Linked DNA regions of Homo sapiens: all the other regions are linked to region 5. Evidence: promoter capture Hi-C in human tissues and cell types (Jung and others, 2019). All regions are on one chromosome and are shown on one strand. Each heading gives the region's core, a stretch centred on a gene start or on the middle of the fragment in contact. The rest is flanking DNA. Distances are from core to core; before and after follow the strand shown.

The links. The method cuts DNA at HindIII sites, captures the fragments that hold promoters and counts their contacts. A contact is called where the count stands out against the background at its distance.
Region 1: a fragment that was not itself captured here is called in contact with the fragment with the promoter of BCL6 in region 5 in 2 of the 25 tissues and cell types used here (IMR-90 fibroblasts and dorsolateral prefrontal cortex).
Region 2: a fragment that was not itself captured here is called in contact with the fragment with the promoter of BCL6 in region 5 in 1 of the 25 tissues and cell types used here (lymphoblastoid cells).
Region 3: a fragment that was not itself captured here is called in contact with the fragment with the promoter of BCL6 in region 5 in 4 of the 25 tissues and cell types used here (aorta, bladder, heart right ventricle and 1 more).
Region 4: a contact is called between a fragment that was not itself captured here and the fragment with the promoter of BCL6 in region 5, in 5 of the 25 tissues and cell types used here (IMR-90 fibroblasts, aorta, bladder and 2 more).
Region 6: a contact is called between a fragment that was not itself captured here and the fragment with the promoter of BCL6 in region 5, in 4 of the 25 tissues and cell types used here (IMR-90 fibroblasts, dorsolateral prefrontal cortex, psoas muscle and 1 more).

The regions. Positions count from the first base shown.
Region 1 is chr3:188,552,648-188,556,878 of GRCh38, reverse strand. The region is part of intron 6 of LPP (LIM domain containing preferred translocation partner in lipoma); the gene reads right to left. Among named protein-coding and RNA genes, the nearest start is that of LPP-AS1, 14 kb to the left of the region's middle. The HindIII fragment of the contact is 5,615 bases long and covers 1-4,231 here.
Region 2 is chr3:188,616,142-188,620,020 of GRCh38, reverse strand. The region is part of intron 7 of LPP (LIM domain containing preferred translocation partner in lipoma); the gene reads right to left. LOC124906316 (a long non-coding RNA gene) reads left to right here. Exons shown (of 5, transcript XR_007096213.1): 3 at 1,709-1,856. Among named protein-coding and RNA genes, the nearest start is that of LPP-AS1, 49 kb to the right of the region's middle. The HindIII fragment of the contact is 7,946 bases long and covers 1-3,879 here.
Region 3 is chr3:188,632,828-188,637,243 of GRCh38, reverse strand. All of the region lies in intron 7 of LPP (LIM domain containing preferred translocation partner in lipoma), which reads right to left. The region is part of intron 2 of LOC124906316 (a long non-coding RNA gene); the gene reads left to right. Among named protein-coding and RNA genes, the nearest start is that of MIR28, 54 kb to the left of the region's middle. RefSeq lists enhancers at 308-859, 860-1,412. The HindIII fragment of the contact is 6,552 bases long and covers 1-4,416 here.
Region 4 is chr3:188,345,206-188,349,356 of GRCh38, reverse strand. The region is part of intron 3 of LPP (LIM domain containing preferred translocation partner in lipoma); the gene reads right to left. Among named protein-coding and RNA genes, the nearest start is that of FLJ42393, 170 kb to the right of the region's middle. The HindIII fragment of the contact is 3,208 bases long and covers 492-3,699 here.
Region 5 is chr3:187,742,689-187,746,802 of GRCh38, reverse strand. BCL6 (BCL6 transcription repressor) reads left to right here and starts at 1,335. Exons shown (of 10, transcript NM_001706.5): 1 at 1,335-1,393. It overlaps BCL6-AS1 (BCL6 antisense RNA 1), which reads right to left and starts at 3,134. Exons shown (of 2, transcript NR_173091.1): 1 at 2,759-3,134; 2 at 777-1,559. RefSeq lists an enhancer at 1,697-2,222. The HindIII fragment of the contact is 4,851 bases long and covers 1-4,114 here.
Region 6 is chr3:188,256,223-188,260,738 of GRCh38, reverse strand. All of the region lies in intron 2 of LPP (LIM domain containing preferred translocation partner in lipoma), which reads right to left. Among named protein-coding and RNA genes, the nearest start is that of FLJ42393, 80 kb to the right of the region's middle. The HindIII fragment of the contact is 5,784 bases long and covers 1-4,516 here.

The DNA.
Region 1 (4,231 bases), core at 409-2,908, 810 kb before region 5:
TCCAGTAATTAAGAGTTTACCCTATCACTTCTACATTAAGTATTGGAATGACCTTGAAGGTGAAATGTCAATCAATCACCAGGGCATTCAGAAACCTGGATTTCAAGCCTGAAGTGCCAAAAGTGCCAACCCTTGCATAAGGTTCTAAGATATGAACAAGCTATGGTTTCGCAGAGCATTCACAATCTGGAGAACTATGTGGAAGTAATTAGATCATAATGAGGTTAATTCATGTAATGATTAAAAAAACTGAAAAAAAATCAAACCAAAAAAACAAAAAGGCAGAAAATAGTGCAACCGACTCAAGCACAACTCTAGAAAGAGTTTGTATGATTTTCAGGGTAAGAAGGAAATATAAGTCAGGTGTAATTTTATAGATGTTAGTGATCATTTTATTCTTAATCACTAGAGCTAACAATTATTGGTAATTTACTATATGACAGACACTATGGTATATGTTTAATTTTTGCAATCTTCCCAATAAACCTATGAGACAAAACATATCATTTCTTTCCTTTCAAAAGTAAAACAAACAAACAAAAAAAACTGAAGCACACAGAAGGGTTAATTAAACTTTCCAAGCTCAAACAACTAGTAAATATGAAACTAGGATTTGACCTCAGACAGGGCAACTCCAGAGCCCTTGTATTTAACCAATATTTAGAGGGGCCTCGACTTTGACAAAAAGTAAGGCAAGTGTGAGCAAATAGCTCAGAAGAGTAACGATAACTGTTCTTATCAAGGCAATCCTCAACTAAGATCTAGATCCATTGGTCCAACTTTTAATCCTCATGGCATTTGATCCAATGGTGTGGATACCTTGATCACACACTCACTCTTGAAGCACATTTTTCACTTCATTTCTGGACACCACTGTCCTTTGCATTTCCTCCTACCTCAGTGTTTCTTGTCCCAAGCATTCTTTAATAGTTCCTCTATTTTCTCCATGACATCAAAATATTCATGGCTTCCTCCATTACCTTAGGTGATATGATCCAGGCTCAAAGCTCTAAATGTATATCTGCTGACACCTACACCTATATCAAGTCAAGAGCCTGCCCTTGTACCCCAGACTCAAATATACAGCTGTCTACTCAACCAATACTCGAATCTCTAAAAGATAGCTCAAATATAACATATTCAAAGCCAAATGGCTGATCATCCTTTCTCCTTTCTCTTCTAAACAACAAAAACAGAAGCAAAATTAATCTTCCTGTCTCCAGAAATCTCACTAAATAGCAATTCCATTCTTCTCCTTGCTCAGGGTAAAAACCTAGGAGCCATTCTTGACTCTTCTATTACTCTTATATTCCACATCTGATCTGCTCACAATAGTTGTTGAGGCTGCAATGGAAATATATCCAGAATCCCACTACTTCTTATCCCCTCCCCAACACCAACTATACCTACCAAGTCCAACCAACTATCATTTTGAGTTTGATTGTAATTTCTAGTTTGTGTTGTCACTTCTGGTTTGGATTACCACATAGCCTACAGAAAGCTGCCTGAGTGATCCTTAACATAAGCCTGATAATGTGACTCCAAATGCTCTCCATCTCACTTAAACTAAGAATAAGAGGTCCTATGAGGTTCTATGTGATCATGAGGGCCCCTGCTACCTCCCTAACCTTATTTTTCCTCACTTCCTTGGGATCACTTGGCTTCAGGCACCCTTGGCTACTTCACTCTTTCTTAAAAATGCCAGATGCCAGCCATGATCTTCTCAGACTTTTCACGCTTGTGCTTCCCTCTGTCTATAACATGCTTATCCCAAATATCTGCAGAGCTCACTTCCTCACCTCCTTGAGATCTCTCCTCAAATATCTCTTCCTCTTAAGGCTTTTCTTAACCACTTTGTGCAGAATAGCAACTATGGCTCCACTCAACCCAAAGCACTCTTTCACTTTTATCTTGCTTTATTTTTCTCTATAGAACCTAACATGTTTACTATGCCTCTCCCACAGTAATATAAACTCTTTTAAGAAAATACACATTGTTTTATGCATAGCTGTACCCTCACCCTCTATAAGACAGCTTGCCACCCAATAAGTCTTCAATAAATATGTCATAATAACAAAATAAATGACTCCTCTGGTTATTCTTATTGGAGTTCTAGAAATAAGACTCAACTTGAAGAACCCAATAGTATAAAAAGTAATGCAGCAGTGTAAGCACTTCTAAAACTGGCTTGTTGATTTGGAATCAAAGTAAAATATTATATGTCACCATAGATTTGGATTGTGAGTCATAGACTATTAAACTTGGGAGGCAGCTGTGCTGGACTAGAAAGAGAGTAACTTGGAGTCAGGTGATGATAGTTGCAGGCTTGGCAGAGCCACTGATCTGCTGCAAACCTTCAGACAAACAGCTTCAACTCTATGGGTTCTCCTATTCCATCTAAATAAAAGAACGCATCACTGTAAATCTCTAGTGTTCCATAATCTGGTATAAATTGAACTACAACTTGTTCAAAAATATTCTTTTGGGGTTTGTTTACAGGACATATCTTGCTGTTGTCAGCTCTATTTGCAAGTTAGAAAAGAAGTCACATTTGAAATTGTGTGGCTATTCTGAAAAATTATGTCACATCAATAACACATAAAGTAGGGGATAGAAGGTTTTTCCTCTCCATGCACCACAGTGGGTGGTAGATATTATCAACTACAACACAGAAGAAACAAGTTTTCAGGAGGCTAAATTCTTCCAGAAAATCTTTCTTTTTTTTAAAAAAAAGCATCAAATTCACACGTGAGAAACAACTTGCAGTTTTCCTTCAAATGTATTTATTTCTGATTCTTGATATACAGTCTCACAGATGCATGGGATGTGATACATTGTTTTCTCATAAGCAATAGAGATGACCTTTAAAAATGCACCCCCTTTTATCCCCCAGCCTGCAATCCCATGAAGATGAAAGCCAGTTTGCTATTCTGCATTAACATTTCTGTGATCAGATATAGTGTGGGCACCTCAATTCTATCTGTGTCAAGACATTTTCACACAAGTGACTCACTCGGTAGAAGCTCAGGCATTGAACACCACTCTGACACCATCTCCTTTGAGGTTGATTCCACTTTGCTGGTGTTACCAGCCAACATCCTGTTTAGCTGCTTTCCTCTGCAACACAACAGTGTAATTGGAAGTGACTGAATAATAAATCTCAATTTCTCTGTTTCATCAAGAGAATCTTCCAATTTACTAGGCTTCTTCTATTCACCAGTTCATCTTCTGCATTATGAATCATTCTTGAACAAACACACAAGTTAACTGTCCGTTCCTATGTTAAAAACACGGTGTAGCAGGGATAATTCTTTCATTAGATTTCCTAGATCTGTTTTGTGGGGATCTCAAAGAAAAGCTAGTGTTGAATATATAGACAGGTCATCCACCTCCTCACATGGGTAATGCCAGCTCCAACATGCACGAGCTCAATGTGCGGCCATTCCAAGGCATCTCTCTGTCCTAAGTAACCCCCTCCCTGCTACCAAGCTTCAGTCTTCCAAATCTGAGTTACCTTTGCTTAATGTAGGTCTACCTGAACTTTTTACCCAGAACATTATAAATCATGAATGGCATTCTCACAGGCTAGAGGAAAAACAAGTAGGAGGAAAGGGTAGAAAAACACATGATATGGGAAAATAATGATAGGTACATGGCACTAATATGTGTCCCAAGTATACTGAGTCAAAAAATAGTCTTCATTTTCCCATGTTTAAAATGCGAAGGATGGTTGGGTACCACAAGCTACCCACTTCAATTGTTTGACATCATTATAGATTAAATATTCCTCTACTAGGTAGAATTGAATAGCTCTCTATGGCCATCAGAATAACTTCAGAACTCTTTACATTAGCACGAAACACACTTTATGACTGGCTGCTTCATTTCTTCTCACAATCTCAGCCTCCATGCATTAACGTTGTGAACTTATCTACTTTCCTAAAAACAGACTGTGATAAGCATAAGAACAGCCCTCCCCACCCCGCCAAGAATGTACACACTCTAATTCCTCGAACTTGTGAACATGTTGATTACAAAGACTTTGCAGATGTGATTAAGGTTAAAGATTTTGAGACAGGGAGATTAGCCTGAATTATCCAGGTGAGCCTCATCTAATCACATGAGTTCTTAAAAGCAAAGAATCTTTCCCAGCTGTGGTCAGAGAGACATGACTATGAAAGAGTGGTCAGAGAAATGCAATGTCACTAGAAAGACAGAGTCCGAGAGCCAA
Region 2 (3,879 bases), core at 684-3,183, 870 kb before region 5:
ATAATATGTGGGAACTGGAAGAATGGTCAAACTTCTCCAAGAAGTTAATATTAGAGACAGATCTTGAAGTTTAAATAAGAGTTTACCAGGGTGGGAAAAAAAGGAGGGATATAGAACCTACTCTGCACATAGCATGTTAATTTTTGATTTTGATATTCTGTTCTTCCTTCCCTGAAAATTTCCACTTACTGTCACAACTTCTAATTTAAGATTCAGGATCTGCTGGACAAGAAATAATATTAAATAGTTCAGGGATGTTCAAGAACTTTTAATAAGAATCTAAATTTCATGACGTTCTTCCCATATTTTTGACCAGCAGTCAACAATGTTTTTCTGTAAAATGATATACAGAAAATGTTTTAATATCTGTAGGCCATACGGTCTCTGTTGCATCTTCTCAGCTCTGCTGTTATAGTGTGAGAGCAGCCATTGATAATATGGAATGAAGCGAGTATGGCTGTATTTCAAGCAAACATTATTTACAAAATCAGGTGGCAAGTGACATGTGGCCCACAGGCTGTTGTGTGCTGGGTCCTGCTTCATATTCTCTGGGCTGCCTTCCTGAACTCCTCTCCAGTTCCCATTTTTCTGCCCCTGCAGAGACCACCAGCCTCAGTTGTCTTCTAGTAGCTTACTTAACTAATATTTTGTGTGCTTTGGATGGGGTGGGTAGCAGGATTATAAAGCATGGTTTCTGTCCAGGCGTGGTGGCTCACACCTGTAATCCCAACACTTTGGGAGGCCAAGGTGAGTGGATCACCTGAGGTCAGGAGTTTGAGACCAACCTAGCCAACATGGTAAAACCCCGTCTCTACCAAAAATACAAAAATTAGCTGGGCCTGGTGGCAGATGCCTGTAATCCCAGCTACTTGGGAGGCTGAGGCAGGAGAATCACTTGAACCCGGGAGGCAGAGGTTGCAGTGAGCCCAGATTGCACCACTGCACTCCAGCCTGGGCGACAAGAGTGACACTCTGTCTCAAAGAAAAAGAAAAAAATAAAATAAAAAAGCATGGTTTCCTCTGGTAAAACCTACTAATATCATCTATAGTAAACTTATTCAGACTTATGTTAAAATTGCATTATGAACCACAAAAAATAAGTAACAGCTAACTGATAAATCCATAAATAAAACAACTACCACACTTACACCTTATCCTTCTTGTTTTACAATCATCTTTAAATGTGAATTTAAAAAAAGATGGTGTCATATTTGAGGAGGCATAAATATACCAAACACTTATAAAGACTGAATAACAAGGGACCTCTTACCTTGAATTCAGACTTAGGGTATGCACAGTTTCAGCTCCTTAACTCTTAATAGCAATGTTGACTGAATCTTGGGTTTCAAATAATGTTAAATATATGTTATGTCCCGGAAATACTACTCAGAAGTTTTAGTCTCTAAACTCTGCGCCAAAGGAATATTTTATGTTTGGACAACTCTACACAAAATAGAGCTAATATATACAAACACAGACAGCTACAAATGGAGGCAAGTTTCACAGAGTGGAAAGAACACTGGGCTGGCAGTGAGGCGACGTCAGTTCTTACCCTCCCTTAGGTATTCAGTATTGGTAGGATACTAAAGAAGTTGCCTCTGAACAACTTACAGAGTTTTTCTTATATGAGAGTGTTTCGTAAATTTTATAAGTGATTGAAAAAGAAGTTAAATGTTATTATCTCATATTTTCAAAATTTTGTTTTAAGGAAGCAACCTTCTGAAATAAACCAAACTGTATTATTTGAAGATCATTCTCTGAAGTCCAAAGATGAAACAGATCAAACACTGTATCATTTGTTAAGAGTACTTCTAAAAGTTGGGGTTGCTGTACTCCAGAAAAATCAAAGAACTAAGGTAACAAGTAAATCTTTGTATGTGGGACAATGGCACTTTTGATACTATAGTAGTAAAAATAGTGTCTTTCACTCTAAGACACTTCCTAACACTGTGTGTGCAAAACATTTCAAAGCTTTAATATTCACCAGAAATTATTTATCAATAATGGTTCAAATTTCTTTGTTTGGTGAAGAAGAGAATAACCATAGTCTCTTGTTGAAATTGGACAGTATGAGTGTTTGTAGCTGGCCAAGAAAGAAATGAGATTCCCAAAGGAATATATCAATATGTCAATAAGCAAAATAACTGCTTTGCTTAGAACTGAAGTAAAACAAAACAAAGAAAAAACACTGATAAATAGAATTTCTCTCACTCTGTAAACACAAAGAATTACATATTGCCAGAATTACCTGTTAAAATGATTTGCTGAACTTTCCAAAGGGATTTGAGACCTGGGGTATTTTTAAACAACCAAATCTATGAAAATGATTAGATAAGTAAAATAAATAAATAATATTCACAGACATTTCTTAGTATACCAGCACATCCATTCTGATGATAACTTTTAAAATCAGGATAGAGAGATTATGGACTGAGTCAAAATTACACAGAGCCCATGAACGAGTGTTTTCACAGGAGCAGCTGTGAGACAGAATAGGGAGCACCAGAATCGGAACCATTTTCTATTATTCAGTGGCCTTACAAAACTGATGATGGGGTTCTAAAGATAGGAAATAAGATCATCCTGACAATAGTTATTATTACACCTTTTAAAGGTCACTTACTTCTGACCTCCTCTGTCTTGAACTATCCTTAACCAATATAGAGAAGAACTGCAGAATAGAAGAGTTACATTTTGCATTCACATGAGGTCATTTACTAACCACATAACTCTGAAAGTCACTGTAACTCTTCAGGCCTCAGTTTTCTCATCTGTAAATGTAAGGGGTTAAGACTTATGATTCTGAAAATCGCTTCTATGTCTGATGGTTTACGTAGGCTAGCCTATGGAAGTGGAGAGGAAAGGTTCTTATTTTTTCCAACTTATTTCCTTTAAAGTTGTATCACGCTGTTTCTTTTTCAATCAGCAAGCAAATCTTTCAAACATAAAATGTTGATGAATAGGCTTATCCATAAAGGAAATAAACAATTGCATCAACAATTTTCAGATAAAATGATCAGGTAGAATTGCCTAAGAAGTCTTATTAAAGAAGCTAGTACAACTATTACATTTAACAAGTTATAGGATACAAAGGGAGTATATAAAAATCTATTGCTATTTCTATATGCTAATAACAAATGATTATAAACAAATTTTAAAATACCATTTACAATAGCATCCAATATTTGAAGTGCTTAAGGACAAGTTTACCAAAATATATGCAAAACTATGATATGTAGATGAGAGAAATTAGAGAAGACATACATAAATTAAGAGATAGGCCATCTTCATGGATTGAAAAACCCAGTATTGTTAACGTATCGGCTCTTTTCAAATTGATCTAAAGATTCAAGGTAATCTCCAAATCATAGCAGCCTATTTTGTGGACAACAACAAACTGATGCTAAAACGTATACGGAAATGAAAAAAAACCCATAGAAATGAAAAAGAGCCTGTACAGACAAGGCAATCCCAAGCAAAAAGAACAAAGCTGGAGGCATCATGCTACCTGACTTCAAACTATACTACAAGGCTACAGTAACCAAAACAACATGGTACTGGTATTGAAACAGACATATAGACCAATGAAACAGAACAGAGACCTCAGAAATTACACCACACATCTACAACCATCTGATCTTCGACAAACCTGACAAAAACAAGCAATGGGGAAAGGATTTCCTACTCAATAAATGGTGCTAGAAAAACTGGCTAGCTGTATGCAGAAAACTAAAACTGGACTACTTCCTTACACCTTATACAAAAATTAACTCAAGATGGATTAAATACTTAAATGTAAAACCCAAAAGCAAGCATAAAAACCCTAGGAGAAAACCTAGGCAGTACCATTCAGGACACAGGCATGGGCAACGGCTTCAT
Region 3 (4,416 bases), core at 363-2,862, 890 kb before region 5:
GGTCAGTTTCCATGTAGTTGAGTGGTTTTGAGTGAGATTCTTAATCCTGAGTTCTAGTTTGATTGCACTGTGGTCTGAGAGATAGTTTGTTATAATTTCTGTTCTTTTACGTTTGCTGAAGAGAACTTTACTTCCAAGTATGTGGTCAATTTTGGAATAGGTGTGGTGTGGTGCTGAAAAAAATGTATATTCTGTTGATTTCGGGTGGAGAGTTCTGCAGATGTCTATTAGGTCCACTTGGTGCAGAGCTGAGTTCAATTCCTGGGTATCCTTGTTGACTTTCTGTCTCGTTGATCTGTCTAATGTTGGTCTTTTGGTCTTTGATGATGGTGATGTACAGATGGGTTTTTGGTGTGGATGTCCTTTCTGTTTGTTAGTTTTCCTTCTAACAGACAGGACCCTCAGCTGCAGGTCTGTTGGAATACCCTGCCGTGTGAGGTGTCAGCGTGCCCCTGCAGGGGGGTGCCTCCCAGTTAGGCTGCTCGGGGGTCAGGGGTCAGGGACCCACTTGAGGAGGCAGTCTGCCCATTCTCAGATCTCCAGCTGCGTGCTGGGAGAACCACTGCTCTCTTCAAAGCTGTCAGACAGGGACATTTAAGTCTGCAGAGGTTACTGCTGTCTTTTTGTTTGTCTGTGCCCTGGGCCCCCAGAGCTGGAGCCTACAGAGGCAGGCAGGCTTCCTTGAGCTGTGGTGGGCTCCCCCCAGTTCGAGCTTCCTGGCTGCTTTGTTTACCTAAGCAAGTCTGGGCAATGGTGGGCGCCCCTCCCCCAGTCTTGCTGCAGCCTTGCAGTTTGATCTCAGACTGCTGTGCTAGGAATCAGCGAGACTCCATGGGGTAGGACCCTCCGAGCAAGGTGCGGGATATAATCTCGTGGTGCACCGTTTTTTAAGCCCGTCGGAAAAGCGCAGTATTCGGGTGGGAGTGACCCGATTTTCCAGGTGCCGTCTGTCACCCCTTTCTTTGGTTAGGAAAGGGAACTCCCTGACCCCTTGCGCTTCCCGAGTGAGGCAATGCCTCGCCCTGCTTCGGCTCGCACACGGTGCGCGCACCCACTGACCTGCGCCCACTGTCTGGCACTGCCTAGTGAGATGAACCCGGTACCTCAGATGGAAATGCAGAAATCACCCGCCTTCTGCGTCGCTCAGGCTGGGAGCTGTAGACCGGAGCTGTTCCTATTCGGCCATCTTGGCTCCTCCCAGAAATTCTTAAACATAATCCAGGGATCTGTTTCTTAATCTGAATACCATCCTTCAATTTCCTTTTCAACGATCTAGGCTAGGCATTGGGTAAAACAGGTGACTCTAACACAAAGAGTTTATTACTTGCAAGCAGCTTCTCCACATAGTCCTTTTTCCAGTAATCTGACACCACTTTTTATCAGCCCGGTGACTGGAATTTCTCCAACACTAAATTCAAATCAGGAATTGGAATTCACTTCAATAAACATTTACTGAGTGCTTATTGTGCCACTGGGGAAGTGCTAAGTTAAGGAATAAACTCATTTAAACTCGACTAAAGAACATATCATTCTCCCACACCCCAGGACATCTTCTGATTTCTCACTATATCAGATTCCAAAACCAGAACTTCTAGATTCTGATACATTAGGAATGAGAGCTGAGATGCTGATTTTTTGAGACAATTTCCACTCCTCAAAACACGAGAAATGGAGCCTCTTAGAGGCTCAGTAGCATTGTGTGTATTTCCCTTGCACACACACGTTCATTTCTCACATGGTTCGGAACGCCTTGTCTGAGCATGTCAAAATAATCTGAATAAGCCTGTTCTCACAATATTTGTGGACAGACTAGAACCAAACGTACTGGTAACCTCTTGAGAACAAGCTGTCTCGTGAGATTTATGCCCCACAGTTCAAAGGAAAGGAACTTAGAAACATATCCAAACTCTCAGTATTTATTTAGATGCAACGACAAGCTTTCTAAGCTGTCCCCACTGATGCCCAAGAAGCACTATCACAAAATAGAACCTTTCAGACAATGCAGCATGTGAGTTAGAGACTTCTGAATGCCTAGAGGCATCAGAAATCTAATCGTTCTCCTAAATGTCTATGAGATTAATATCAAACACAAAATACATATTTTAATAATATAATTTAAACATGGAGCCCATAAAGTTTGCAACTCACAACAAGAATTATTTTACTCTAGTTGTAACTCTTCTGCCATGTCCCACATTAGGGAGATGGAGTGGTTGACAAGAACCAGATCTAGAAGGACGGCTGCACAATCTCTTTCTGGTCCCTATTCTATCCTCGATGCCAGTGGTCCCCAACCTTTTTGGCATCAGGGACCAGTTCTGTGGTCTCCAATTTTTCCATGGATTGGGGCATGGGGATAGTTTCAGGTTGATTCAAGTACTTTACATTTATTGTTCATGCTATTTCTATTACTATTACATTGTAATATATAATGAAGTAATTATACAACTCACCATCAGTGGAATCAGTGGGAGCCCTGAGCTTGTTTTCCCAAAACTAGATGGTCCCATCTGGGGATGATGGGAGACAGTGACAGATCATCAGGCATTAGATTCTCATAAGGAGCACGCAAAATATATCCCTCGCATGTGCAGTTCACAATAGGGTTCACGCTCCTATGAGAATCCAATACCGCTGCAATCTGACAGGAGGTGAAGTTCAGGCAGTAATGTGAGTAATGGGGAGTGGCTGTAAATACAGATGAAGCTTCGCCCACTTGCCCGCCACTGACCACCTGCTGTGCAGCCTGGTTCCAACAGGTCACGGACTGGTAGAGGTCCATGGCCCGGGGGTTGGGCACCCCTGCTCTGTGCCTGTAGGACCATGAGCAAATGACTTCAGGCCTCATTCTCTTCATCTATTTCTTCTGTCACTGAAACCTTTGAGGGCAAGGGATTGTGTCTTCTCTACCTCCATTCCTATCACAGGGCCTGGCACACAGTAAGTGATCAATAAATGTCTGCAGAGCAAATGAGAAAAATAATAGCTTTAAGCCAGATACTATATAAACGCCCCTCCAATGCTAAAGTTAATTTGGCAAAGAAAATATCAGAGTGGTCATTTGAATCGCTGAGAAAAGAAACGAAAAGAAAGAGAGCTTTGATTCCAGAATCTGAGACACTAAGTGCTTCCCAGTATTTTCTTTTTATTAAGGTTTATGTAACTATTCTTTATATGGAATATTTTCATGCAGACTTTTGTGTAGATCCCCTTAAAATATATCTTGTGTTGACCGACAGACTGATGGTAGTACAGTTTTGGTCTAATCAAATTATGCATTTTATCTGATAGTTCCATGGCAGAGAGAGTAAGCCATGTCTGGAACAAAGTGAAAAATGAGATCAGAAGGTTAAAAGCCTTCAAATTATTTCCATGAGCAAAAGAGTAAAAAGGAATAACTCTATAGTACATTATACAACATATTGAAGAGGCATCAGTCAAAGATGGAACTGTGATAACAGCTTGAAGAATGATATGAATGATATATAGATGATATATAGATGTACTTTCAATTACATCCCTGCCATTTTACTTGTAAATATTGTGACTGTATTACCTCCATTTGGCAAGAGTGACAGATTATTTTTGTTAGCATGCCCCTCCTCACCCTATCTGACTTTATTTTAATATACTCATGCCATTAGAATATGTTATCTGGAAAAAAATCACTGTGGGAAGAAAAGATGAGCGTGTTCATTCACTGTAGACAGAGGACCAGGTTTTGTATAGTCTTTCTTATTGTTACTCCAAAGAATGTAGTTCACAGCCATTCTCATCGAGAGGTGTGCTAATACTGCTCACAGGAATGCTGTCTGCCACCAGTAAGCCTTACAATACCAGTTATGTAAGTAACTGGTTATTAATGCTTTTGCTTCTCAAATTACAGCAAGAAGAGTGATAGAAGCTTTGACAAAACAACACAACAGCATTTACATGGTCTGTGTAAAGAACTGTGTCTTAGCAGTGACGTGGGAGGTGACCCGGGTGGGTTCTGTTTAGACTGGTTGATGCCTGTGTGCTACCAGCATATGTGGTGAATTTTACTACACAGTTCCCTGTTCTCAAGTACTCATAGCCCAGTATGATAGTGACAACATATCTTGTTCAAGATTGAAGTAATCAACACATCTATATGACTTGGAAGAATCATTCAAAGACTGAACACTCAGATATCCCTACTGGTTCTGTCACTAGGTCACACTGGGTGATGGCTGGCCAACAACTTTCCTCAGATTGCATAAATAAGATAGTATGTTAGACTTTTCTCCCTCTGGGTCAAGGAAAGTTCAGAAAGAAGGCCATGCTTCTATGTCGTCTATGAGAGAGAGAAGAGCCACCAGAATAAACAAATAAGCAGGAAATGGGGGATGAGAAAAAAGATAATGAAAACGAACGTGGGGTAGAGTTGAGGGCTAG
Region 4 (4,151 bases), core at 846-3,345, 600 kb before region 5:
CTTTTAGCATCCATATGCTTTTTGAGCAAGGAAACTAAAATATTTCATTAGTTTTGAGTAATTAATAATTACTTATTTCACAATAGTCACCCTCATTAAAAAGCAAAAATAACTGATTAAGCTGCAGGATCCTGGCTTTCAACTCAGGCTTTTTAAATTTTTTTAAAAAAATTCTTCCCCTCTAGGAATTGAGTAATAGGGTAAAGCAGCCAGTGTGGAAATATTCACACTACAGGGAATGAACAGTTATCACCCACAACCCAGCATTCCTCTTGACTGAGACATCGTGGTTTAATGAAAAGAACATGGACTTTGGATCAGAAAGACTTAGAATCCAATCCCAGTTTGACCCCTTCTGAATAGTAACTTCTAAGGAAATGAAGGGTGTTAAAAAGATAAAGCCTGCTGGATCCCTTCAACCCAGTCTTCCATTATTCCCAAGGAGTGACTTCACAGCATCCCCGCCCCCCGGACCCCGCTATCTCAAGGCATGGTACAGCATGCCCCAAGAATGCTGGCAGCATGCCAGGCATTGTCAGCACACCACAGCAATAGCCTTGAAATAGGGCGAGGGCCGAAGTGAATGTTTCTCAAACACTAATGAGCATATGAACTACCTGGGGCTCTTGTTAAAGTAGAGATTCTCATTCAGAAGTTCTAGAGTATGATCTGAGATTTGCATTTCTAACAAGCTCCCATGTAATGCTGATGCTTCCGGTCCTCAGACCAAACTTTGAGAAGCAAGAGACTTACAACTGTCAAGATGAAGTTAGGAAATAGAATCTTGAAAAGCAGAACATCTGTGCCTGTCTCATTGGGCTGTGATAAGGATTATTAATCAGATGGGTGATAGTATTTCTGTATATTGAACAGTACACTGGTATAGTCCTGTTAAAAGGGTATGGTTTCAGCCACGCACGGTGGCTCATGCCTGTAATCCCAGCAATTTGGGAGGCTGAGGCAGGTGGATCACCTGAGGTCAGGAGTTTGAGACCAGCCTGGCCAACATGGTGAAACCTTGTCTCTACTAAAAATACAAAAAATTAGCTGGGCGTGGTGGCTCATGCCTGTAATCCCAGCTACTACAGAGGCTGAAGCAGGAGAATCGCTTGAACCCAGGAGGCAGAGGTTGCAGTGAGCCAAGGTCATGCCGGTGCACTCCAGCCTGAGCAATAAGAGCAAAACTCCATCTCAAAAAAAAAAGAAAGAAAGAAAAGAAAAAGGGTATGGTTTCTATTACAGACAACAAACCTGAGACCCAAGTAAATCAAGTAACTTATCCAAGGCCACACAACTAATCCTGCTGACCTTCAAATACAGGTTTATCTGCCTGTCAAGCCTATCAGTGTGAGTATATGCCAACGGAAAGGTAGGAAATAAAAGTAGATACTACTGTAGATTGCTGGTATAAAGCCTTGTTCTTGTTTTGCCATTATTCTCAGAGAGCCATTAACCTGCTGTGTGAATTTTAGTAAGTCTTACCCCTTCTAACCACCTCCATTTCTGCATCTGCAAGGTGAAGGTACTGCCATTGAGAAACTCCGAGGCGTCTTCCATCTCTGACCTGCCTTTCACTCTTCTGGCCCCCCCACACACTCACAGTGGGTCATCAGGTGCTAAGCTTTAGCTTCACACATGTGGCAGTCATCACAATTTGGCAGCATCCAAATTCTAGCTGCTCACATCTGCATTTGTGCTGATCTGTGCGTGGTCAGAAGTTATCTCTGTTAAAAGTCTCAAGCTCAATATAATGGGGGGGTAGGCCGGGAGGAGGGGAACAAAATAGATGACCCAAAGCACTGAAATTCCTATTTAGGTGAAAACTCAGTATGATCAGGGCACTATGACCCTAACTACTCTTCATCTCCTCATCTCACTTACCAAATGAAGATATTGAGAGCACTAACCTGACAGAAGTTTGAAGAACAAGAAAAAAACTGAGTTATGCATAATGTGTTTCATATGATTATCTAGCTTTTTTTATTCTTTCTTAAGGAGCCAGATAAACACGTAGTTAACGAATTATGATATGAAGTAATTCATAATGTATGATCTTGTCCCTTCCTAAAATCCCATAGTACACATTCTCTGTATTCCTCTGGGGCCCATCTACCATTTTCTACCAGAAATTTCCATGGTTTATGAACTTGCATCATTGTCTCTATTTGTCTTCAATGTTATCTCTGGAGGTATTCACATATTTTGGAGTAAATCCGGATTTAAATCCAGATTTTATATTTATTAGCTGTAAAACTTTGGGCAAATTACTCAACCTCTCTGAGCACCTAGCAATTTTCTATTTTATAGGATTATATACAATAATGTATTGAGATGTCTAGCATTTAGCAAATTCTGAATTAAAATTGAATTTGAATGCATGAGTGAATGAATGAAGTAGAATAAGAGTTTCAATATTAAAATATCACTCAATAGTTTGAGATACATACATGCCAAAAGTCATGCTACAAAACGAGCCTAACACTCAGAGTATAACAATAGGTGACTACGGGGAAAATCCAACAGCAAAAGGAAATGTATGCCACTCAAATGTCATCTCATACTTCCCACATAGAATGAAAACTTTTGCTTAACTCATGGATGGCCTTCAGAGCATCTACAAACCTCCTAAACTTGTTGATAGCATTTTCTGGAGTTCTGCATTTTCCAACTATTTCATAAATTCATCTGAGTTTCTGAAAATTCCATAATCCTCACATCTGCCCCAAACACAGGATCATGTGTATGCACGTGTGCACGCACATACACACACGTATATTAAGAACTACTACTTTAGGCCAGGCACGGTGGCTCACACCTGTAATCCCAGCACTTTGGTAGGCCGAGGCGGGTGGACTCCTGAGGTCAGGAGTTTGAGAGCAGCCTGACCAACATGGTGAAACCCCATCTCTACTTAAAAAAAAAAAAAAAAATTAGCTGGGCGTGGGGGTGTGCACCTGTAGTCCCAGCTACTTGGGAGGCTGAGACAGGAGAATTGCTTGAACCTGGGAGGCGGAGGCTGCAGTAAACCAAGATCGTGCCACTGCACTCCAGCCTGGGTGACAGAGCGAGACTCCGTCTCAAAAAAAAAAAAAAAAAAAAAAAAAAGATTTGCTACTTTAGGCAGGTCCCTGGACAGAAAGGGACTGTCAAATAAAAGAGAAAAAGTAGATTTAATAAAACAAGGCTGAAAGCTGCAAACATACTGTTTGGAAAGTATGGGTAGTGGAACTTATAATGATGACCATCTCAAACCAGAAAAAGGGGCTCTGAATTCAAGATCTGGCTTGGCTGCACATTCGCTGCAGGTCCTTGGGCAAATCTGAGACTCATGAAAATCAGAGGGTTCCTTTGACATCATCTATGCCACCCTCCTCCTCCCATCTCACAGATGGAGAAAGTGCAGCTCAGAGGAAAGTTAGGCATTCACTAAACTCATAGCAAATTAATTAGAGCCAGGATTTGAACCTCAGACTCAGTCAACTGATTTCTACTCTTTGAACCTCTGTACTGTGAGGTTCCAGGTAAGTGCTTAGGTCCAGTGGTCTCTAAGCACCTTCTATCGGATGGGTAACAATTACTACACTCTTCTCCAGACCTGGAAGCCCCCATGTACATGTGAGTTTCATTTTGGCAATGATTATACTAGCTGTTTCTCAGTCCCAGCCCATCCCCACAAGAATAAGGCAGAAGGGTCTGAAATAAGAGAGAAGGGTCTGAAAGGGTGAGAGACACTGCTATTAATGCTGTGTAGCCCAGCAATTGGGAATCGCAGGCCTTGAACTAGACTTCATTGTGTTGGCTATTATTCTTCTGTCCTCTTGCTTATAAATCCCTCATCTGTCTTCTTTTTTTTAATGTTCCCCAACAATGTGCAGGAAACAGGAGCTCATTCTCAGATTCCTATAATTCACTGATTCAGAAAAGGGCAGGAGGCGGGTGGAGGAGAGTGATGATGTCAGCGTCAAACAACCTCTTACAGGAAGAACTGCAAGGGAATCCACAGTCTTTTAATAAACACGGAAAGCAGAAGGTAGCCGGAACCCTCTGTGCCATGTCTTCATGAAATTAATGAAGATACCTGGAGTCCATTTATGTTTAAGGACATCTCACATCCCCATGCTGAAAATGAAATTGGTTTTGCCTGGAAGATA
Region 5 (4,114 bases), core at 86-2,585:
GGCACGGCAGGCCTTTAGAATTCCCTCCGGCTGATCTCTTAAACACAGACTGAAGAGATTTTTTTACAACGACCTTGAAACGAGCCTCGAAAACAAAAATCTCAAGACCTTAAGAGAAAACAAAACACAAACAGGTATTTGGCTCACAGAATTTTGTAGAAAACACACACATACCACCCCGCCACCCCCACCCTCCCCCCCACACACACGTTTCTTGCAACAAGAAATTTCCCAAGAGTCAACAATAACAGATTAAACCCACCACTTGCTGTCCTGGAAAGAAACAAACCAAACCAAAACAAATCCTTTGAACATTTCTCTGAAGTGCAGGAGAGACACACTTCAGCAAAAGTCCAAGGGGGAAAAAGAAAATTGCACCAAAGGAAAAAAAAAAAAAAAAAGTGGGGGCTGGGATTGTTACATATGGCCAAAAATTTAAGCTTCTTTCAATAGTATTAGTATTGAAATAATACATCTTTAAAACGCTTGAGGGATTAGATAGGGAAAGAAAAGGCACGTACAAAAAAATCCAACCGATGCCGATCCTGTGATTTACGTAACACCACAAACTTGCAAAAGGCAAAAAATCAGAAGCAAAAATCCATAAACCATCAAAATACAGAAACCAAAAATCCCAAGCCACCACACCAGAAAGAAAAAAACCCAGAACAACAGCAAAAACCCCTGTCCTAAATAAAAATAAAGCAAATGAACCCACCGAAAACTGCTTGGCAAATATTTTTCTCGTGGTGCCTAATATTCTAGTTGGAAAGAGCTGTGATGTTTATTTTATTTTATTTTTCTCTTACTCGCCTCTCTAACCCTACTATATATATAACATACTTTTCCCAGTGGTTCAAACCTCTCGCTCCCTTTTGTGCATTTAGCTCGATCTGCTGAGTTTATGGGTAAGAAAGAAGGAATTAGCCCCAGACCCCGGGAAAGCAAAGCGCACTCCCCCTCTTATGTCACCGAATAGCAAATTAGTTCTCAGAATTCCAGAGGCCGAGCTTTGCTACAGCGAAGGCGCCGACGTCACAGAGGAGGAGCCCACGTGATGGTGGCGGAGCAGGCCATACCATCGTCTTGGGCCCGGGGAGGGAGAGCCACCTTCAGGCCCCTCGAGCCTCGAACCGGAACCTCCAAATCCGAGACGCTCTGCTTATGAGGACCTCGAAATATGCCGGCCAGTGAAAAAATCTTGTGGCTTTGAGGGCTTTTGGTTGGCCAGGGGCAGTAAAAATCTCGGAGAGCTGACACCAAGTCCTCCCCTGCCACGTAGCAGTGGTAAAGTCCGAAGCTCAAATTCCGAGAATTGAGCTCTGTTGATTCTTAGAACTGGGGTTCTTAGAAGTGGTGATGCAAGAAGTTTCTAGGAAAGGCCGGACACCAGGTGATTATTGCTGTTGCTGCCGCCGCTGCTGCTGCTACTGCCGCCGCCGCCGCTGTTGCCGCTGGTGCCGCTGCCGCCGCCGCTGCTCATGATCATTATTTTACCTTTTAATTCTTTTTTTTTCCGCTCTTGCCAAATGCTTTGGCTCCAAGTTTTCTATGTGTATCTATTGATATAAATGTATATATTTATTTATTCTAGCTGTCAGGTGTTAAAATAAATGCCGAAGATTAGTCCCACGTCTCTCCCACCATAGGATATAGATTGTTATGTATTTATTATTATTATTGTTGTCTTTGAGTGAATCGGCCGGTTTGGGGAGGCTTTTGCCACCCTCCCTTGTGTTGTTTTGGTTTTTGGAAAGGAGGTGGAGGAGAGGAAGGAGGGGAATTAGGGGGCGGCCGGAGCAGAGAGGACGAGACAGTGCTTGGGGGGTGATTCGGGCTAGTCTGGGGGCTGTCTGGCCCCAGACCGCGGAGAGGACGCGCGCTCGCGCTCTCGCTCTTTCTGCTGCTGCTTGCGTACGGCTTGTGATCTCTCTGGATTCGTGCGGCTGTGTTTTTTCCCTCTTTTCTCGCTTGCAAACTGCTTTCCTTGCTCCGTCGCTCCTGGCCTCCGCTTCCCTCCCTCCTCTTTTTCCTCGCCTCTTCTTCCTTCCCTTCCCCTGTCCTTCTGGGTAACTCCGGGAGGCAAAAAGGGAGGCTGCCCGCTCGCTCGCCCCGCTGGCTCTCTTCCATCGGCCTCGGTCTTTTAGATTCCCTGCCTTCGAGCCGAACCGAGATTTGGAAGGAAAAAATGCAAGCGAACTCTTTGGGTTTTTGTTTTTGTTTTTTTGGTCATAAATCCAGATGAGATGAAGTATCGTGTCTACTATTTCCTTTCAGAGCCGTGATCTTCCTAATGAGAGCCGAGTGTTTTGGTGTTCCCTGCCCCTGTGTTTTGGGGAGCTTGGGGGCGGGGATGTTGAACACTTTGAAAATTATTCTTTCTTGGTTGTAGTCGAGGGAGTCGGGAACCTCCGCGCGCTCTCCCTGCTCATCCCGAGGAGAGAGACTGATGGCGGGACAGGGCTTCTTGGGGTGGGTGGGAAAGGGGTGCGCACTGCACCTGCGATGCCTTTCAGTGTGCGGGGGGACTCAGGGAACCTCGACAGGACAGCCTGGGAGAACGAGAAAGGTGGCGGGATTTCTGGCCGCTGCGGTGTTTGTATTTTGGGCGCTGCGTGACTCTGTGTTGGCTCCCAATGGCTGTTGCCTCCCTTTCCTAAATTTTATTTTATTTTTTCCCATGGTGCAAGCTCTGTAAAAAGGGAACTGCGGGCCTGAGCGTAGTGGACGCCAGGCTTCAGATTCCCGAGGTCCTTACCTTGGGCGAGGAGAAAGACGAACAGAGCCCCAGCCCGCGTTCCTTATGTGCAAGACTCAGGAGGAGAGAAGGGCACTTTGTGGCCGTGGCTGAGGGGACCCGGCGCGGGAGGAGCGGGCGCGGGCGCGAAAGGGAGATCTTTGTGAGTGATTTTGCAAAAATAGATTGCGAGGTTGGTTGGATTTGCAACCTGTGGCTCTCCTCGAGGGAGTAAGAATGGGGGAAGGCGCGGCGGCGGCGGCCCGGGGAGGGAGTGGGTAGAGTTGGAGCCTCAGAAATCGGCTGAGCTCCGGGGGCGGGCGGGGAGAAAGGGCGGGGGGGCAGCAGGAGCTAGGGGCCACCCCGCTGCCGGATGTAGTGACCGTGGTAAATGTCTTGAGAACTGTGGGTTGCGTTGCCTTTATGATGCCGTGTTATTGGAACCCTGGCGAAAAATGGAACTAGTGTTGCAATAATGAGTTTTAAAGCTCCCCCATGGAAAACAAAAACACAACCAAACCGATTTTTTAAAAAAATGAAAAAAGACCCTCTGTGTTGTGTTCCCTTCTACGATGGTTGTGTTGGTGGCTGGGGTTTGGGGGTGGGGGGTCCTGACAGTTGAGCAGATAAATGACCCCAAACCAGGTGCTGAAAGTCCCAAGCTGTCACAGGGCCCCTGACCACCTCAGAGAGCCAATCTCCACTCCGCGCCCCCTCCCCGCCGGCCCCCGCCACCCCACAACCCGCCAGGATTTAATCTTTTATGGATTTTTTTTTCAGTTTATAGTTTCCAGGAGGAAAGTCTTGTAACGCTTTACTTTTTCTCTTCTTTTTTTAAAGTAAAGTGAGTGTCAGTAGATGTGTTTTTTACAGTCTGGATTTTAAAAAAAGTGGGGCAGGAGAGAGGGAACCAGGGAAAGGGCTGTTTAGAAATACAGTTTGTGGCTCTGAGCGATGCCACCGGCTTCCTCTACAGAGACTGCCAGTTTCCCTTTTTCTTTGCAAGGTGTGTGTGGTTTTAATAAATAACTTAAAAAAAAAAAGAGGGGGCGGCAAGATCCATCAGGAGACAGGTATCTATTTTGCTCACTATTTACTACCAAGAGCCTTTGGCACTAGAACAGAACCTCGTAAATCTGCAGCCCAAGTTGAAGTTCATCTGGCCCTAGTCCACACGCTATTCCTGGAGGTAGCAAACATGAGCTCAAAGAAGAGAGATGAAATCACATTCTTGCTTTAAAATATATACTTTTTTAAAAAAGACGAAAAGATATTTGTCTCTGGGGGAGGAGGAAATGGCGAACAAGTACCAGGAGATGGGCATTCCCTTACTCTAATGACTGCAGTTGAGTCTTCAGGCCAAAATAGAAACCTGTA
Region 6 (4,516 bases), core at 498-2,997, 510 kb before region 5:
CTTTTTAAACTTCGGTTCCTCTGATTTCATCTGGGATGGAGCTGTTCTCAAACAGCTGTTGTTGAGTCACAGTTGCCTTAAAAAACAACAACCAAGCATTGTGTAAATATAAGGTGCTCAATCGTTATGCAGCCATGAGGTCCTTCTTGGGGCTATAGCAATAGTGACAATTTCTATCTTGGTTTCTATCAGTGACAATAGTGACAATTTCTATCAGTGACAATGGTGATTAATAATAATAATAATAATAAACAGCCCACTTACTGGTCATACTGGCCTTGCCATAAGTCATTAAAAAAACAGAGGCAAATTCCTTTCTCCAAGCTCCAAGCACAAGACACCCCACATTATCGTTTTTGTTAAATAGGACAGGTTTCATTAATAATAGGTGGAAGTGGCCAGGCACAGTGGCTCACGCCTCTAATCCCAGCACTTTGTGAGGCCAAGGCAGGCGGATCACTTGAGGTCAAGAGTTCAAGACCAGTCTGGCCAACATGGTGAAACCCTGTCTCTACCAAAAATACAAAAATTAGCCGGACTTGGTGGTGGTGCATGCCTGTAATCCTAGCTACTTGGGAGGCTAAGGCAGGAGAATCGCTTGAACCTGGGAGGCAGGGGTTGCAGTCAGCCGAGATCGTGCCACTGCCTGGGTGACAGAAAGAGACTCTGCCTTAAAAATAAATAAATAAATAAATAAAATAAGAATAATAAATAGGTGAAAGTGATAGTGTTGATTTTTATTTTCTTCTTTAACCCTGTTTACAGTTTCTGAATTTTCTATGAGAATATATTGCCTTTATATTAAAAAAAAAAGAAGGTCATTTAAAGACATGTAAACAACCACCACCATAAATAAGCCAGGCTCTCCTTTCACTGAGTTTAAACATGAGCCTTCCTTACCAGTGAGCCTGCAGGGGATATTCTGTAACTAGGTCACCGGATTTTACGCCATCACAGTAGTCCTCTCCAAATGTTCACCAAAGCTACCAATAGCTCAAGAGATTAGCTTTGGACAACTGCTGAATTGAACAAAGTAACACATACACTGGGGGAAAAATAATTTAGGAAATGCCTACAATATTCTTGGCACAGCAGTAGATATCAAAATTAAGAAGAGGCTGCCCCACCCTGCAGAAGCTTACAGTAGTAGAAGGGGAGAAATTATATACATGCATAAATAAGAATACCTTGAGGTACAATGTGAGAAGTTCTACAAGTGTTCCTGCTCAATGCAGTGTGGAAGTTCTAGGAAAGGAAAGATTATTTCTAGCTGCTGGAAGGACAAACAGCTTCAGGACAGAGTTAATGTCTCAGCAGGATCGGGCAGATCCCACACCAGGGTATAGTTCATCTGGCTGGTGCCCAAGAATGGTAAAGAGTGGCCTTAATTAGAGCAAGAGAGACTGGTGTCAGGTGTGGGGTGAACACTCAATGTCATGCTGGGGAATTTGGGTGTATTTCCACAGAAGCAAGGCAAATGTCTCTGGATGCACTCTGGGAGCCACGGTGATTATCTCCATGGAAGCCATTCTTTTATATGCAATAGTAAATTAAATTAGCAAACAAAAATCAAAGAGACTACAAATATTCAAGCTAGTATAAACAAGCCATAGTATGTTCTGGAGTAAAATTATTAGATGTGATTGTGAATACCCCATAACTAGAAAATACACCCCTTCTGTGTTGAAAATCTGGTGAGGGGAAGAGATTACAAGGGAAGACAGCAAAAGCCACAGCACTGACTTTTGGTTGCTCCCAATAATCCAATCCAAAGTGGTTAATTCCTCTTCTCTGGGGCCACTAAATTCAGCATCTGTGTCCATCCCTGTAACACCCTCTCCACAGCCTAAGACATCTCAAAAAAATATAAATGTTCTCAGTGAATAAATCCCACCCTTCAATGGAATGGTAACATCATAAGATTGAGGGTTCATAGAGTCAGAAAAAAAGTATACTGTACCAACAAAATAATGAAAAGTGGACTTTCTGCCCCCTAATGCGGTGATCGTCTTCTCTAGACGAATCTTAGAATCCCTTCAGTACTTACTTTTTTTTGCGCTAATAGCGAGAACCCCAACCTAGCCCATTCAAATCAAGATCTCTGGAAGGTGAGGGCTGACATGCTTACAAACAAAAAGCTCCATGATTCCAGCACTTTGGGAGGCCAAGGTGGGAGAATCACTTGTGCCCAGGAGTTCGAGACCAGCCTAGGCAACATAGTGAAACCCTGTCTCTACAAAATATACGAATTAGCCAGGCGTAGTGGCGTGTCCCTGTATTCCCAGCTACTCACAAGGCTGAAGTAGGAGGGTTGATTGAGCCTAGAAGGTTGCAGCTACAGTGAACCATAATCATGCCACTGCATTCCAGCCTGGATGACAGAGGGAGACGCTGTCTCAAAACAAAACAAAACAAAACCTCCCCAAGTGATTTTAATGCGCAGCCAGTGTTGAAAGTCACTGTTAGAAGTTTGACTGAAATGTTCAAAGGGAAGGGAAGTAAGAACTCAAATAAATGGGAAGAACTGACTGACCATTCACTTCAAGTATCACAATAATCCCTAATCACAAACCAGTTCCTTTTCAGGTCTCTTTCCCTGGTTGGGGAGTCCAGGATGAGCTCTTTGTAGTGGGAACATCTGGGCCCCGTGGGCCTGTCAGCAGATGCCACACAGAAGTGTCATGAGCATCAGCACACAAATCAAGGACACCTTGTTAGTAGGGCTCAGCGCTGGTTTTACTTATCACTGTAATAGTACAGGTGAAAGTAGGAGTGTGTGGAATTCAATTTACAGGCTTTAATGCTGTAGCAGCACTGGGTGGAAGGTGGATATAGGCTTTGCAGTTAGGCAAACCAACATTTGAATCCTGGCTCTGCCACTTTCTAATTGAACTTAAGTAAGTCTTTTAATCTCTTTGAGCCCCAGTTCCTTATTTGCAAAGTGGGAAAGAAAACACATGTCTTGCACGTTGTTTTTCTTCTAAGATTAGGAATGATGTGTGTACACAGACTGGGTGCCCAGTGAACAACAGTAAATACTACTATGATTACTGAGCAAAAAAACAACTTGAAGTTGTCTTCAAAATTGCATTCCATGACCAAACTATGAACTGAGAACAAAAGTGAGAAACAGATAAGGTAGACAACCAATTTCATATCTCATAAACCAGGAAGAAGTATTATTCACACTTCCCATGTCAACAAAAAACCAGTCTGTTTAAACTACATGTCAGTTCCTTTCCCTCAGTTGTGTCTTTCAGCAAATACAAACTGGCTTGGACTTTAACTGTCGTTAAATCTTGTCTTTTCTCTATTCAGTCTTTGTCAAATGACAGAATGGCAAAGCTGAAAGGTGGCCTCAGGAGGTAACACGACCGTCACCCTCACTGTGCAGGTAAAAGAGGACACCAAGGCTTTCCCAGGACCACACAGCTCATCAAAGCCTGCCCATCCTCAAGAAGTCATTAGCAGTCAGAAAAAAGCTATGAGCAGAAAGCTAATTAATGAGCTTATCAACACTTCTTTTCATAAGACAGGGAAAATGGAAATTAAAGTCTTACTATATGTGCATCAGGGACAGTTCTAGCACCAGAACTAAGATTCAGGTCTATGGGATCTGGAGCACTGGACATAGAGTATGGAGATGGGGTCACATGATCAGGCTTCACCACGACCTCATAACCTCAGACAACTAATGCCCATCACGTCTCTATGCCACATATTCCCTCTCCCTAATGGTATCACACTCCCTAACTTCCTCAAGGATTACTGGGAAATTTCTGGATGGTGACCATGGAAACAATCTGCAAATTAATAGGAGATAAATGTGAGAGGCCTATTCCAGTTAGACTTTGAAACACCCACACGTATGCATGTGTACCTCCCTGCACAAATGTATGAAGAGCCACTGATAGATATGCACCCATTACCCACTTGGGCCAAGTGCCAAATGACTGAATGTTAAAATCAATAGTAAGCCAAAGCTGAGACTGAAATCTCTCATTATCATCGTCTGAATTTTTGTGATATAAGAATACACATGAAATTTCTCTGTGTTAAAAATCATTTATCATTGATGTTGCTATACGTAATTTGGGAGGTTTTCCTGATCAGGAAATGTTGAGAGACAGTGTAGACACTCTACTTTTAATTTATCTTCAGAAAATGTGAAAAAAAATCTTAAATAGGCTTTTTCTTGAAAGACTGATGACCTTAAGTGTAATTAAATAACTAAAAGTTAAAAATGGTTCTTAATGGTCATTCTGTTTGGTGTCATAAATGCATTCCACAAACAACCCAGTAACAATTATAATTATTGTATAATCTAGTTCTATAACAATACTTAGATTACAATTTATATTTTTATAAATGCTTGTTAGCTGAAAAAAGATGTGTTGGTCAACCCAAAGTTATCTAGCTAACAAACTGTAATAACTAAGATTTAATAACCTCAATTAGCTAATATTCATTAACTAAGGTTTAATTAATCTAATTTTTATATTAATTACCAACTAAT